Linked DNA regions of Homo sapiens: regions 1, 2 and 4 are each linked to region 3. Evidence: promoter capture Hi-C in human tissues and cell types (Jung and others, 2019). All regions are on one chromosome and are shown on one strand. The core of a region is centred on a gene start or on the middle of the fragment in contact, and the rest is flanking DNA. Distances in the headings are between cores, read along the strand shown.

What was found. The method cuts DNA at HindIII sites, captures the fragments that hold promoters and counts their contacts. A contact is called where the count stands out against the background at its distance.
Region 1: a contact is called between a fragment that was not itself captured here and the fragment with the promoter of SEMA6A in region 3, in 1 of the 25 tissues and cell types used here (mesenchymal stem cells).
Region 2: a contact is called between a fragment that was not itself captured here and the fragment with the promoter of SEMA6A in region 3, in 1 of the 25 tissues and cell types used here (lymphoblastoid cells).
Region 4: a contact is called between a fragment that was not itself captured here and the fragment with the promoter of SEMA6A in region 3, in 1 of the 25 tissues and cell types used here (dorsolateral prefrontal cortex).

What each region holds. Positions count from the first base shown.
Region 1 is chr5:117,118,591-117,121,605 of GRCh38, forward strand. No RefSeq gene overlaps it. Among named protein-coding and RNA genes, the nearest start is that of LINC00992, 300 kb to the right of the region's middle. The HindIII fragment of the contact is 7,552 bases long and covers 1-3,015 here.
Region 2 is chr5:117,135,515-117,138,761 of GRCh38, forward strand. No RefSeq gene overlaps it. Among named protein-coding and RNA genes, the nearest start is that of LINC00992, 280 kb to the right of the region's middle. The HindIII fragment of the contact is 6,383 bases long and covers 1-3,247 here.
Region 3 is chr5:116,573,293-116,576,276 of GRCh38, forward strand. SEMA6A (semaphorin 6A) reads right to left here and starts at 1,531. Exons shown (of 19, transcript NM_020796.5): 1 at 893-1,531. SEMA6A-AS2 (SEMA6A antisense RNA 2) reads left to right here and starts at 1,126. Exons shown (of 3, transcript NR_147170.1): 1 at 1,126-1,247. RefSeq lists a silencer at 1,287-1,366. The HindIII fragment of the contact is 11,240 bases long and covers 1-2,984 here.
Region 4 is chr5:117,098,453-117,101,471 of GRCh38, forward strand. No RefSeq gene overlaps it. Among named protein-coding and RNA genes, the nearest start is that of LINC00992, 320 kb to the right of the region's middle. The HindIII fragment of the contact is 5,178 bases long and covers 1-3,019 here.

The DNA.
Region 1 (3,015 bases), core at 260-2,759, 550 kb after region 3:
GGGACCCACTGACCTGTAGCAGACTGTGCTTAAATTTACTTCTAAAAATAGCCTTTTACCCAGAGAGATGTAAGATTTCTCATTATTCTAGTTGTGACAGTCCTTTCATGGCTGATGACTCAACTGTACCCTAGGTGACAATTACCATAGAATTTCACTATGTTGATAGGGTTAAAATTACTAGTTACCAGAATCTGTTGTACTTATCACATGAACTGGTTCATACAAAGTTAAATATGGATGATACAAATAATGTGCATGTGGAAACTTGTTTGTCTATCCCAGATTTGGGGCCCAAACTTAAACGCTGACTGGGGCCAGGTAAGTGATATAAGCAAAGAAGTAGCCTGGGGTAAGATAATAAGGAATGGAAGAGACCATTGCAGCTAAGCAGCAAGTTCCCCAATCTGAAAGGTTTTGCTGTAGCTCAGCTCCAGCTAAATAGTTTCATTTGAGAATCAGGCACAGGGTTGCCAGATCTTTAGATTGTCTTTTAAGTTAAAAATCTAGATTTTTTATGTCAAAATTTCCAGATTTAAATTTTGGCCCATTAAAAATAAAAGCACTGACGTCAGTAAGGTGGGGCCTAAGTCTATGGGGCAAAATTTTGTCTGTAAGCTTTTAGTTTATGGCTGTGCCTATAAAATCTATGAATTCTGGGAAGTGGGGATAGGAGGAAGTTTCCAGGAGAAGGAGACTGACCTTGGATAGTGTGCAAATCAGTGGGCACCATGACACCTCAGCCAAGGAGCAGGGCCCAGGAAGACAGGTGTCTAGAGAGCTCTCTTAGGCCACAGGCTCTCCTGATTTATTGTTTCCTCCTCTCCTAGAATGCCATTAGTCCTGGGGAGCCTCCTGTGCTAACAAGGGGTGGGTATTTCATTCACAAGCTGAAAGAGTGACGTATTTTCTTTTTCTGTTTAATTTCTAAGAAGTGAACAAGTTTATTAAAACTATTGGTACAGCAACTAGACTTAAGAAAATTCATTTCAATGCTTCATTATGTATTTTCAGAAATAAAGGTGTTTATTTCACAAAAGGAAATTGCCTATTGGCTTGGTTACTTTATATCTGATTTTCCAACTAGCTTTTTAGATCATTCGCAGTTCATTCCATATATCATATGTATTACAAATGGAAAAATGTGCCTATGTCAATAACTTTATTTTGAATAATGGTAAAAATTTCTAAGATATGCATAGTGAGGTTTGTAGAGTGGTTTGCTTATTTATCTTTTTATTTTGAAATAATTTCAAATTTGGAAAAATATTCTAAAATTGTCTAAAATAGTCTAAAATAGTCTAAAAATTCCCATATATCTTTTATTCAGATTAATTGTCAGCATTTTTCTATTTGACATTTCTCTCTCCCCCATTTATTATGTATATTACTAATAATATATAAGAAATATATATTATTTCTTTTTTAATTCATTTGAAAGTAAGTTGTAGATATCACATTCATCTTCCCTTAAATACCTCAGTCTTGGGCTGGGCGCCGTGGCTCACGCCTGTAATCCCAGCCCTTTGGGAGACTAAGGTGGGCGGATCATGAGGTCAGGAGATCGAGACCTCATGGCTAACAACGGTGAAACCGCGTCTCTACTAAAAATACAAAAAAAAAAAATTAGCCGGGCGTGGTGGCGGGCGCCTATGGTCCCAGCTACTCAGGAGGCTGAGGCAGGAGAATGGCATGAACCCCGGAGACGGAGCTTGCAGTGAGCTGAGATTGCACTACTGCACTCCAGCCTGGGCGGCAGAGCGAGACTCCATCTCAAACAACAACAACAACAACAGCAAACAACAACAACAACAACAAACACTTCAGTCTCAGTCTTTATTTACTAAGAATAAGAACAATCTCTTATATTAACTCAGTATCATCAAAATCAGAAAACTTAACAAAATTCAACATTTAATCAAATACATTTATCTTATCTATAATACATGTTCAAATTTGCTAATTGTACAGTTAAGGTCCTTTAGAGCATTTTTTTTTTCATCCCAGAATCTAATTTATGATCATGCATTGCATTTTCTTTGTCATGTCATTTTAGTCTCCTTTAACCTGGAGGAATTTTCCAGCCTTTTTGTTGTTGTTGTTCTTTACAGGGGTCCCCAACTCCCAGGTCACGAACCTGTGTGGGTCTGTGGCCTGTTAGGAACCAGGCTGCACAGCAGGAGGTGAGCAGCTGGTGGGCTAGCGTTACCACCTGAGTTCCGCCTTAAGTCAGATAAGCGGTAGCATTAGATTCTCATAAGAGCACAAACCCTATTGTGAACAGGGCCTGTGAGGGAGCTAGGTTTTCTGCTTTTTATTAGAATCTAACTAATGCCTGATGATGTGAGGTAGAACAGTTTCATCCCAAGAGCAACCCGTCCCCTAAGCCTGGCAGTGGAAAAATTGTCTTCCACGAAACCGGTCCCTGGTGCCAAAAAGGTTGGGAACTGCTGCTCTATGATATTGACATTTTTGAAGAATACCAATCATTCATTTCATAAGTTATCCCTCAATTTGGATTTGTCTGAAGTTTCCTCATAATTATGTCCAAATTATGTCTTTACTGCATAAATGATGTGTCCTTCTCAGTGTGTTATTTTAGAAGGCTCATGAAGTCATTTTTCTCTTACTTTTGATCACTTGGTTAATACCCGATCACTTAGTTTACACCAAATTTCTCCACTCTAAAATTACTGTTTTCCTTTTTTATCTTAAAAGTAGTTCAAGAAGAGATACTTTTTGGGTATGTAAATATCCTGTTTCTAATTAAACTTTCACTTACTAGGCTTAGTGTCCATTGATGATTCTTGCCTGAATCAATTATTACAATCAATTGTAATGGCTGCAAAATGGTGATTTTCTAACTGTACCATTTTTCGCTATGTTTATTAGTTAACCTTCTACTCGCTTTCTTTATTTTTCCTTATTTATGTATATCAGTATATACTGATTCTTATTTTATCTATAGATTATAATTCATTACTATCATTATTTATTTTGGTATTTAAGTGTCCG
Region 2 (3,247 bases), core at 419-2,918, 560 kb after region 3:
ACTCCAGCTAGAATAATTATTCTCGACATGCCTTCATTTTTTAAAAGAGGCTGTGTTAGGAGAACCAGAGAACCACTCCAATTAAAGTCCAATTTTCTATCTTTCCAGCACTCTTCCTTAAACTGGAGAAGGGAGGAAAAAAGACCAAGTGCCCTGCCCTAGTTATTGAGGTGAATAAATCCCAGCTGTCAGAGAGCAAACCTCTTTTACTTTGGTTCCAAACCTCCATGGATGTATATTTCACCTGGTCTTTTTTTCCCTATCCTTAGCCTTATTTCCTCATGAGTGCATCAGCTCACACAAAGATTCTCTTTCAAATGAGGTGGCAGGTCCATGAGTTCCCTGTGGCTGTTCTCAATGATGACTTTCGCAATCAGGACATTGGTGAGGAGATCTACTATTCCTCCTTAATTCCAGCCTAGTCAAACTGTGCAAGGACTTGTTTGTAGAAAATAATAGACAATCACTGCTATAGAAAAAGATGGGTGGCTTTTAAGGAGTTGATTAACATCAAACCATATTGCTTAAAACAATTGTGGGAAGGGTGTTGGTAATGGTAAAAACATAAGCTGCCGATTCTTGCTTTGTCTTCTTTTACTTGGCTGCTGTCATAAGCAATAAAACTTTTGTGTGACTACTTGGCATTGCTGTAGGTGAGAACTAGAAAACTTGTGTCCCCTTCCTGTCTCTGCCCTTGATTTATCACCTAAGGAAAACATTAACCACAGTATGCCTCTTTTTCTTCCCTTTTCTAAGAAAACAAAAATGATATTACTTGGGCAGGTTTGGTGTACTTTTCCTATTGTGACCCAAACTGCTTTGCACACATGGGGCTCTAAATTGTCATATAAAACTGGAAAACAATGAGAGACTGGCCCTGATAGGGAGTTCTCTAAGTGACTGAATGAATTCAACACCTAAACTGGACTATTAAGATTGACTTTGGCCATTCCCAACAGATGGAAGCCTAGATCCTTTGAGAATAGGAGAGCTCTGAAATCATCTCTTCCATTCACTGCACAAATGGTATCAGCACACCTTTGTGCAGTCCATCTGGTCAACTCTTGGGCCTAAGCAACTCTTTATTTTCAGGGAGAAAGAGAAATACTAAAAGAACAAGCAGTTTGGAATAGATCACTCATTCATGTAACGTATAAACACATAAGTGAAACTGCCTACACAGATTCTGGTTGGATTAGAAAGTGATCATTGTGGAATGCTGTCACTTGAGAAATGCTGCTACATCTGTTCCTTTGATTTCAGGATGTTGTCCTTAGAATAGTTCACCTTAACCCAATTCTATGCTACGCAGGAATGATTTTTGTGTAGGTGCCAAGAGAAGGAGTACCACATACACATAGGGTGCAGAAAGGGGACACCACATGACTCTGCCTGTGCTTTTCTATCTTGTCTGCAAATGGCCATCACAACAGGTCATTCCATGTGTGGAATGGCAGGGCCTTACTGACTGGAGCAGCAGCAATAAAACTTTTAGCATACTTTGCTACCCCTGTTTTGTTTTGGTTTTCATATTTTATGAGAGGAGGACACAATCATTATTTTCTCATATTTTACAAATTTAAGTACAACTCAGTGACTACCCAGATCTTAGGTGGTTTTCTCGTCCCTCCTGACCTTTCTAGAAGCTCAAGGATTCAAAGCCAAGTTGTTTTCCACATAGTGAGATCAATAAATATTACTAGTGCAATGAGGTGTTCAGTCACTACACTACCTATTTAAACTCCCATTAGTTACAGTTTTAGTTGTTAAGCATCATTACATAAGCATTCTCTGGCCTCAGCATCTAACACTTCAAAGTCATGCAAATGCTGGTTCATGAATTCTGATAAATATCTACAAATAATTCTGGGTGTAGGACATCATGTTTTTCAATCAGAATAAGAACCTGTCAAGGATAGCTCATTGTAATTAGGTATAAATATTGAAAACTTTGGCAACTGGGAAAAACATATGCCAGTGTGCTTATTGGCAAGCCCTGTTGTAAATAATAGGGTATCTAGATGATGATCAGTACATAAAGTGTTGTTTGTAGTCCTTAGGAGCTATTGGTCAAAGATATTAGATGTGTCGACAAGTAATACATGAAGGCCCATATGAGTTAAGTGGTCAATGTGGAGGAGATCAAGAGGTTCAAGGCTGAGCTCTTGTCCATAAAAAAATGCATAATCTTAATAGTCCAAAGTGCAGCAACAATTTTGGAACCAAAAGACCAACAAGAGTTGAGGAGTTAGGTGCAGAGACAAGGAACCAGCAGAATGAGAACCATGATTTATATTGACCCAGGCAAAGGACCTTTAAGGTCTCTTATCAGAACAGAAGATACTCCCAAGTGGATTTGCCTCACAGCCTGCAAAGAGGTTGTATATCATCTTCTAGCAATCAATGCAGTCTCTGTTTCATTTATAGTAAACATGGGTGGATTATCTTCCTTTTGTAACCAGCTCCTTAGAAGCAATTTATTTAAGCTAAATTTTGTATTAGCCACAAGTTTTAATTCTAATTTTTCAGCATCTTAGCTTATAAACCAACTTTTATGCTATATATATATATGGACAACTAGATCCTATCATGTTTCACTTCTCCAAAACAGGATCAACATTTTCAAATAAACTCATGGAGATATGGAGCTGGAAGACAATTTAGGAACTCATTATATATGACAGACTTTGAGAAATTATTTATGTAGTACAATATAGAAATATCTTACAATACAGAAATAATCTAAATATTATAGATAAAAGTGATACTTTAGCTTTTATTGTGCAGATAAATTTGTCTCAGTTCTTTATTTCACTTTGTATGCAGAGACCAGCTTACTTTTTATGTGGTCAGATGGTATAAATTTCATTCTTTTAATCTGGTATCCTAAATCAATAATTTCTGCCTTTTAATAATTTCTTTTTTAATGGTGTTGTCTTTCAGAATTGAGGTAAATTTTTTGAAACTGTTTTATTAAAATCATAAAAGGAAAGAAGTAAGTGAATATATAGCAAACATCAATCTATGCAGGACAATTATCAAGAAAATAAATATAGCTGAATGTGAAGCGATCTTAGAAATGCCTTTATAAACCACAATATTGCCTCACATACATTTAATAGAAACCAGTTTTCTCTCATTATTATGTAATAATTATTATTACATAATCTCATTATTATGTAATAATTATTACATAATCTCATTATTATGTAATAATTATTATTACATAATCTCATTATTATGTAAT
Region 3 (2,984 bases), core at 281-2,780:
CCCTTCCCCCTCCTGGGTCATCTTTCCAGAGCGAGACCGCGCTGATCTGGGAGGAGGGCGTACCGTGCGCCAGCCCGGTGCAAAGGGCTCGGTGCTTCAGGAGGGACGCAGCCGCGACGGGCTATATCCTTGCCGCTCGGGTTGGGAGCTGCGGCGGGGGACAGGACCCATGGCGGGGGCGCCGCGTCACCCGAACGGCTGCTCCCGGACACTTATTCGAGCAAACAAAGCCCGGAACCTCTGGTGGCAGCGGCCACAGGAGCCAGGATCTCACCGAGAGACAGGGCGCGCGGGTGCCTAGAGCCATTACAAGTTTCTTGCACTCCACGGAGCCCAGCCCAGACCCCACACTGACAACAAAAGATTCTCTCCGCTTCCACACCGTCTCCGCGGAACCCCTTCTCCCACCTGGCACTGGACGAAAACAGCGCTGTTATACCCAACCCCCTCCAGCCCTCGAGGGCAGAACCCCTTCCCCTGCCTTCGACACACCGGGCCAGGGAGCTTCCGAGAATCCCACCATTTAGGGCCCGCTCTGCTCCCTGCTGGGCACGCGGGAGGATGAGCCTTGGGTCTCGCACACACACCCCCAGGAGGAACAGCCATACGCGCCGTCGCGGCCCGGGGCGGCGCCGGGCGTGTGCGCAACGCGGGTGGGAAAGCTCTCGACGTGGAGCCGGACGCACTCTGGGGCGCAGGGCAGAGAGGAAAGGCAGGCAGGGCTCACGGCTGCTCCCCCAGGACCGGGCAAGGCTCGGGAAACAGAGACACAAGACAAAATAAAACGCAGGCACCACAAAGCCGACAGCACGCGCTAGCCACGGCCCCGGGACCCTCAGGCTGGAGTCCAGCTGCCCGGGAGGTGGGGCGCGCCCGGGCGCCCGGGGCGTACCTTTTCGGTGCATCGACGGACAGGCGGCCGGGGCTCGGAGCGAACTGGTACAGCGTGTATCCCATTTAGTAATCCATTATCGAGGGGATCTCTCCGGGCCGCGGGCTGCGCTCTCTCCTTCGCAAGCCTTTGTCATTCCTACATGTGTGCTTGTCTCTTTGGGGGAAATAGTCGCGGCGACTACTTTCTGGGATGCAAACGCGATGTGTTCATCTCCAATGACGAGCGGAGAAGGGGAGAGGAAAAAAGAAGCCAAAAAAAAAAAGAAGAAAAAGAAAAAGAAAACCAACAAGGAAGAGGGTAAATGTTCAAGAAACTCTTCTCCAAATCCAAATTCCACTTGGATTCCACTTCGGTGAGTCCCCTTGGTGGTGTCTGCGCCGATTAACAAGTCATTTCAGGGCGGGGGGCGGGGTGGGGGCTGGGGCAGGGGTGCAAGGCTCTGGCCCGGCTCTGCGGCCGGCAGCGCGGTGCCGCGGGTGTGGTGATGCTGGCCGCTGCTACACGCTGCTAAGCGGGCATCGCGGGCGACCGGCACCGCGGAGGAGCGCCGCTGCTGGGTTCCGAGCGCCTGGGCAGCCGAGTGCGCGGGGAGCGGAGTTGGCTGCAGCCTCACCCCGTGCCGCTCACTACTCCTCTGTCACCGGAGAGGCCGCCGCTCCCGGGCGGAGCCAAGTCCCGGACTGGATTGCGCAGATCGGACTCTCCTTCCGCAACTCCGCCTACTTTGGCTGGCGTCTCCTCCGACCCAAAGGAGAGCTGTGGTGTATGTGAGTGCGAGTGAGCGAGGCAGAGGCGGAGAAACTACGCGGTGTGGCTGCAGGTGGAGCCTTGGACCAACTGGCCAGCGCCGCTTCCTTCCACCAGGATTCCTGGCCCCACCGCGCGCTAGGCGGAGGCTCAGCGGGGGCGACTCTGGCTGGAGCCCAGCCCTCACCTCCCCCACCCCCACATCTGCTCTAGCTAGGAAAAAAAAAAAGAAAAAAAAAATCCCGGACAGCATTGCTGAGTCCTGCCAAATCAGAAAAATAAATAAAAATAGACGTAGTGCAGGAGCGAGTTACAAGAAAGGTTTTGTTCATCGATTTTCTTAAATGGAAAAGTTTTAAAGGATGAGGGTAAGTGAACGGCGAGCTTTTCTGATTCTGATTACTGTTATCAAGAGGTAGATTCCAGAAGCGATGGACGCTCTACGTAGTTAGATGAATTGGATAGAAGCCGGTGCGGTTAAAAATACACTTGGAAGATAAGAACACAGCTATTAATTACGCACATACACACGTTAATAAAGCATGTGAAGTAAGCAAATAAACTACAGTGCAGAGAATGGCGTTTTTAACGACGGCGATCTATTTTAAAACTTAATGAAGTTCACATTTTGTGGACTGGTCTTAGAAATAAGTAAACTTCAGAAATAACACGCATACAATTCCAGTGAGAACCCAAAAGGTTTATGGAAGAAGAAAATCGCAACCACTTCCAAGGCGCTATTGTTATGATCACATGAAGAATGGCAGGCACAGCCTTCTTTCACCACTTGAACTTTCAATAGCTACAAAGTCTTGCAGTTACAGGCTTGTGCCAACTCGTCGGGCCACACCACGTTCCCCTCCCCCTGCCGCTGCGCCCCGAAATCAACTGCGCGCCGCGGCTCTTGCTCCCCAAGGGGGCTTCGCAGATGGTACGGATCCTAGTCGCAACCTTTAAACAAAGTAACATCGGGCGGCCCAGCAGTTCTCGGAGAGATATTTACTAGTCATGGAGTTGGCTGAGAAAAGCAAGTGCGGAGATCGGGGTCTCAGTCCCACTTAGGCCGAGTTTCTTTATATTGGAAACTGTACCTGTTCCCTAATTGGGACTAAGACCACTAATAAGTCCACGTTCCCTCTTTGGTCGCTTCTCTAAGTACAGACATCTGCTTAAGAGGCTTCACGAAGAATAAATGCACATGGGTCAACACCCATTCCCCCCGCACCACTACCACCACCTGGAAAAGGTAGGGAGAATGGTAGGAAAAAAAGAAAAAATCAGTACCCCTGCTGTTCTCCAGAGCTGTCAGCAGGGGCCGCTATCCCCACCTTTCTCGGGCAAA
Region 4 (3,019 bases), core at 121-2,620, 520 kb after region 3:
CATTGCATGGGAATAGGTCCTTCTTCCTTCAGCAAATTGTTTTCTGTACCCACGCTTTCCTCTTACACATGTAGAAAAAAATGCTTATCTTCATTATAAAAAAAGTTCTTATTATAAAAAAAATTAACAGCTATGAGGATAATACTCTCTGGTAATAAAACATAATAAAAATGTGCTAAACATATCCTATTCATTCTTTATTTTTATTATATGTCCCTTTCTGTAAACTTACCTTTTTGTACACTATTTTTGACTTTTTTTTTTTTTTTTAAAGATTCTACTTTTTATCTACTTGACCTCTTTTACTTAGCTGTAGTGACTTGATTTTTTTCTGTTACTTTGTCACAATCTGGCCAAATGTTGCATGCTCTAAACAGGCTTTCTTTCGCCACTGCTTCAGACACTTGGGAAATTTTCACCTTTTCCGGCAGTAAAAACAGATTCTGGGCCCATATTGCATTGTTTCCTGTTCTGAGACCAGGGCTCTCCTATTCTGCAAGAAAATTTATTTCTATCTAATAGAGAATAGTATTTAGAAAACAAAAAAGTTAACGATACCCATCTGATGTTCCTCCTGAAAACAGTGGGTGGGAAGATGATGTAGCTATAGGCTGCTTTAGTGACTGAGCTGGAAAATATATTTATTTTAGGTCATGAGTTCACACTGATATTTCCTATTTTAAAATTTAGTATTCTTAATTTATTTTATGTTCTTTTACAATATAAAGTTTTAAATTTAATTTCTCTAAAATATGCTTCTCAAATTTTTACCTTTTTATCAACATTTATTTTGTAGCTGTGCCTTTTCCTTAGCCATTTGTCACATTGACCTTCTCTTTTTCATTCTATAGTCACTTTATTGCCAAAGAGAATACTAGATACAGGTTTGGAATAGAAACTTAAATATGTGACCCGGAATGAAGCACAGGAACACAAAAAAATTAAACATATAAGAGACATGAAGGTGAGTTCACCGAGAATATCCAGTGAGAACTCCAGAGGAAAAAAGTAGAGGATGTGGGTGAGAAGCATAAATTCAAGAGACAAAGGCTGAGTATTTTCAAAATAGATGAATGGCATCATGCTTAGATTGGCAGAATACACAGTGGTAAGCAGAATTTTGAACTGGACCCCAAGACTCCCAGTCCCTGATGTACACCTGCCATATAACCTCGGGCTAGGAAATGACTTCGCTCCCACGATTAGATTTTGTTTTATGGCAAAGGTGGAGGCCTTTGAAGATGTATTTAAGGTCCCATATAAGTTGCCTTTGAGTTAGTCAAGAGGGAGTTTATTCCAGTTAAAACAGGCTTAATCAGGTGAAAGCCCATAAAAGAGGGACTGGGCCCTTTCTTAAGAAAGGTATTCTTCTACTGGCCCTACAGAAGCAAATGGCCATGTTTGGCAGGAAACTGTGAGCAGCTTCTGGGAACTGTGGGTGGCCCCTAGCCCATGGCCAGCAAGAAAATGGGAACTCAGCCACATAGCTGCATGGAGAGGAATTCTGTCAACAAACTGAGGAAGCTTGGGAGTGGACTTTACCAAGCCTTTGATGAGACCTCAGCTTCAGTCGCATGTAGGTTACAGCCTGATAAGACCTTGAAGCAGGGAATCCAGCTAAGCCGGGCTTAGCTTAGTTTCCTCCATGAACTGCAGAAACTATGAGAAAATAAAAATGTGTTGTTTTAAGCTATTAAGTTTGTGGCAGTGTGTTATGCAGCAATGGCAAACCAATACATACACATTGATAATGTCAATGCCAATGGTATGGGCACCCTGGGACATTCCCTTTAAAGTAAAGGATAGGTTGTTATATCATCTGCCTCTTGGGCCACTGGATATTGGAGTCATCATATAGTGTGCTTGAGATGACAGCTTTGACCCATTTTTGAGTGACTTTCCAGGATACCAGATTTGAGTAATGTCCAGAACAAGAGGCCTCTGCAGCTGAGGCAGTCTGTTGCTCTGCTGCTCAGTCTCTATCACCCAGCAGATTTGAAGGCATTAAATGTATCCACTATGGATAAGGATGCTATAAAGGCATTTTTGGCAGATTCCCATAGGAAAATTGCAGGGCTGACTCATAGAGTTCTGAAGTAAGGTCCTGCTTTCTGCGGGAAACAACTACCCTTTGTTAAAAACACAGTTTCTGGCTGGGCGCGGTGGCTCACGCCTGTAATCCTAGCACTTTGGGAGGCCGCAGTGGGCGGATCACCTGAGGTCAGGAGTTTGAGTCCAGCCTGGCCAACCTGGTGAAACCCCATCTCTACTAAAAATAACAAAATTTAGTCAGGCATAGTGGTGGGCCCCTGTAATCCCAGCTACTCAGGAGGCTAAGATAGGAGAATCGATTGAACCTGGGAGGCAGAGGTTGCCGTGAGCCAAGATCATACCATTGCACTCTAGCCTGGGCAACGAGAGCAAAACTCCATCTCAAACAAAAACAAAAACAAAAAAACCCCACCACACTTCCTGGCAGGCTTAACCCTAGTGACTGAAGGTCTCACTAAGGTTCACTCACTGTCTATGCAATTAGAACTACCCATCATGAACCATGTGTTATCAGTTGCACCAAGTCATGAGATGAGGCAAGGCAACAGTAATGCATTATATGATTAAAAATGCCATATTTAGGATCAGGCCTGGATAGAATCAGAAGACACTAATATATTTCATAAATAGGCAGGCCAGACCTTTGTGTTCCCTACTACCATGACATCAGTCCCTCTTTGTAAGCTCACAGTATGGCTTCATAAGGGGTTCTCTATGAGCAACTCATGGATGGCAAAACCTCGTTCACATATGGGTCAATGCAATAGAGATACTGCTCCAATAGAGGTACAGGTTTATTACAGCTACCTGTAATGAACCACTGCTGCATTACAGCCCCACTCAGAGCTAGCACTATGGAATAGTGTAATGGAAAATCCTTGTATTAGAAAAAGCTCTGAACAATACACTTGGCTGTTTACTTTGTTGGGAGAGAGAAGTGCCTGGAGATAGGTACATCTACTAAAAT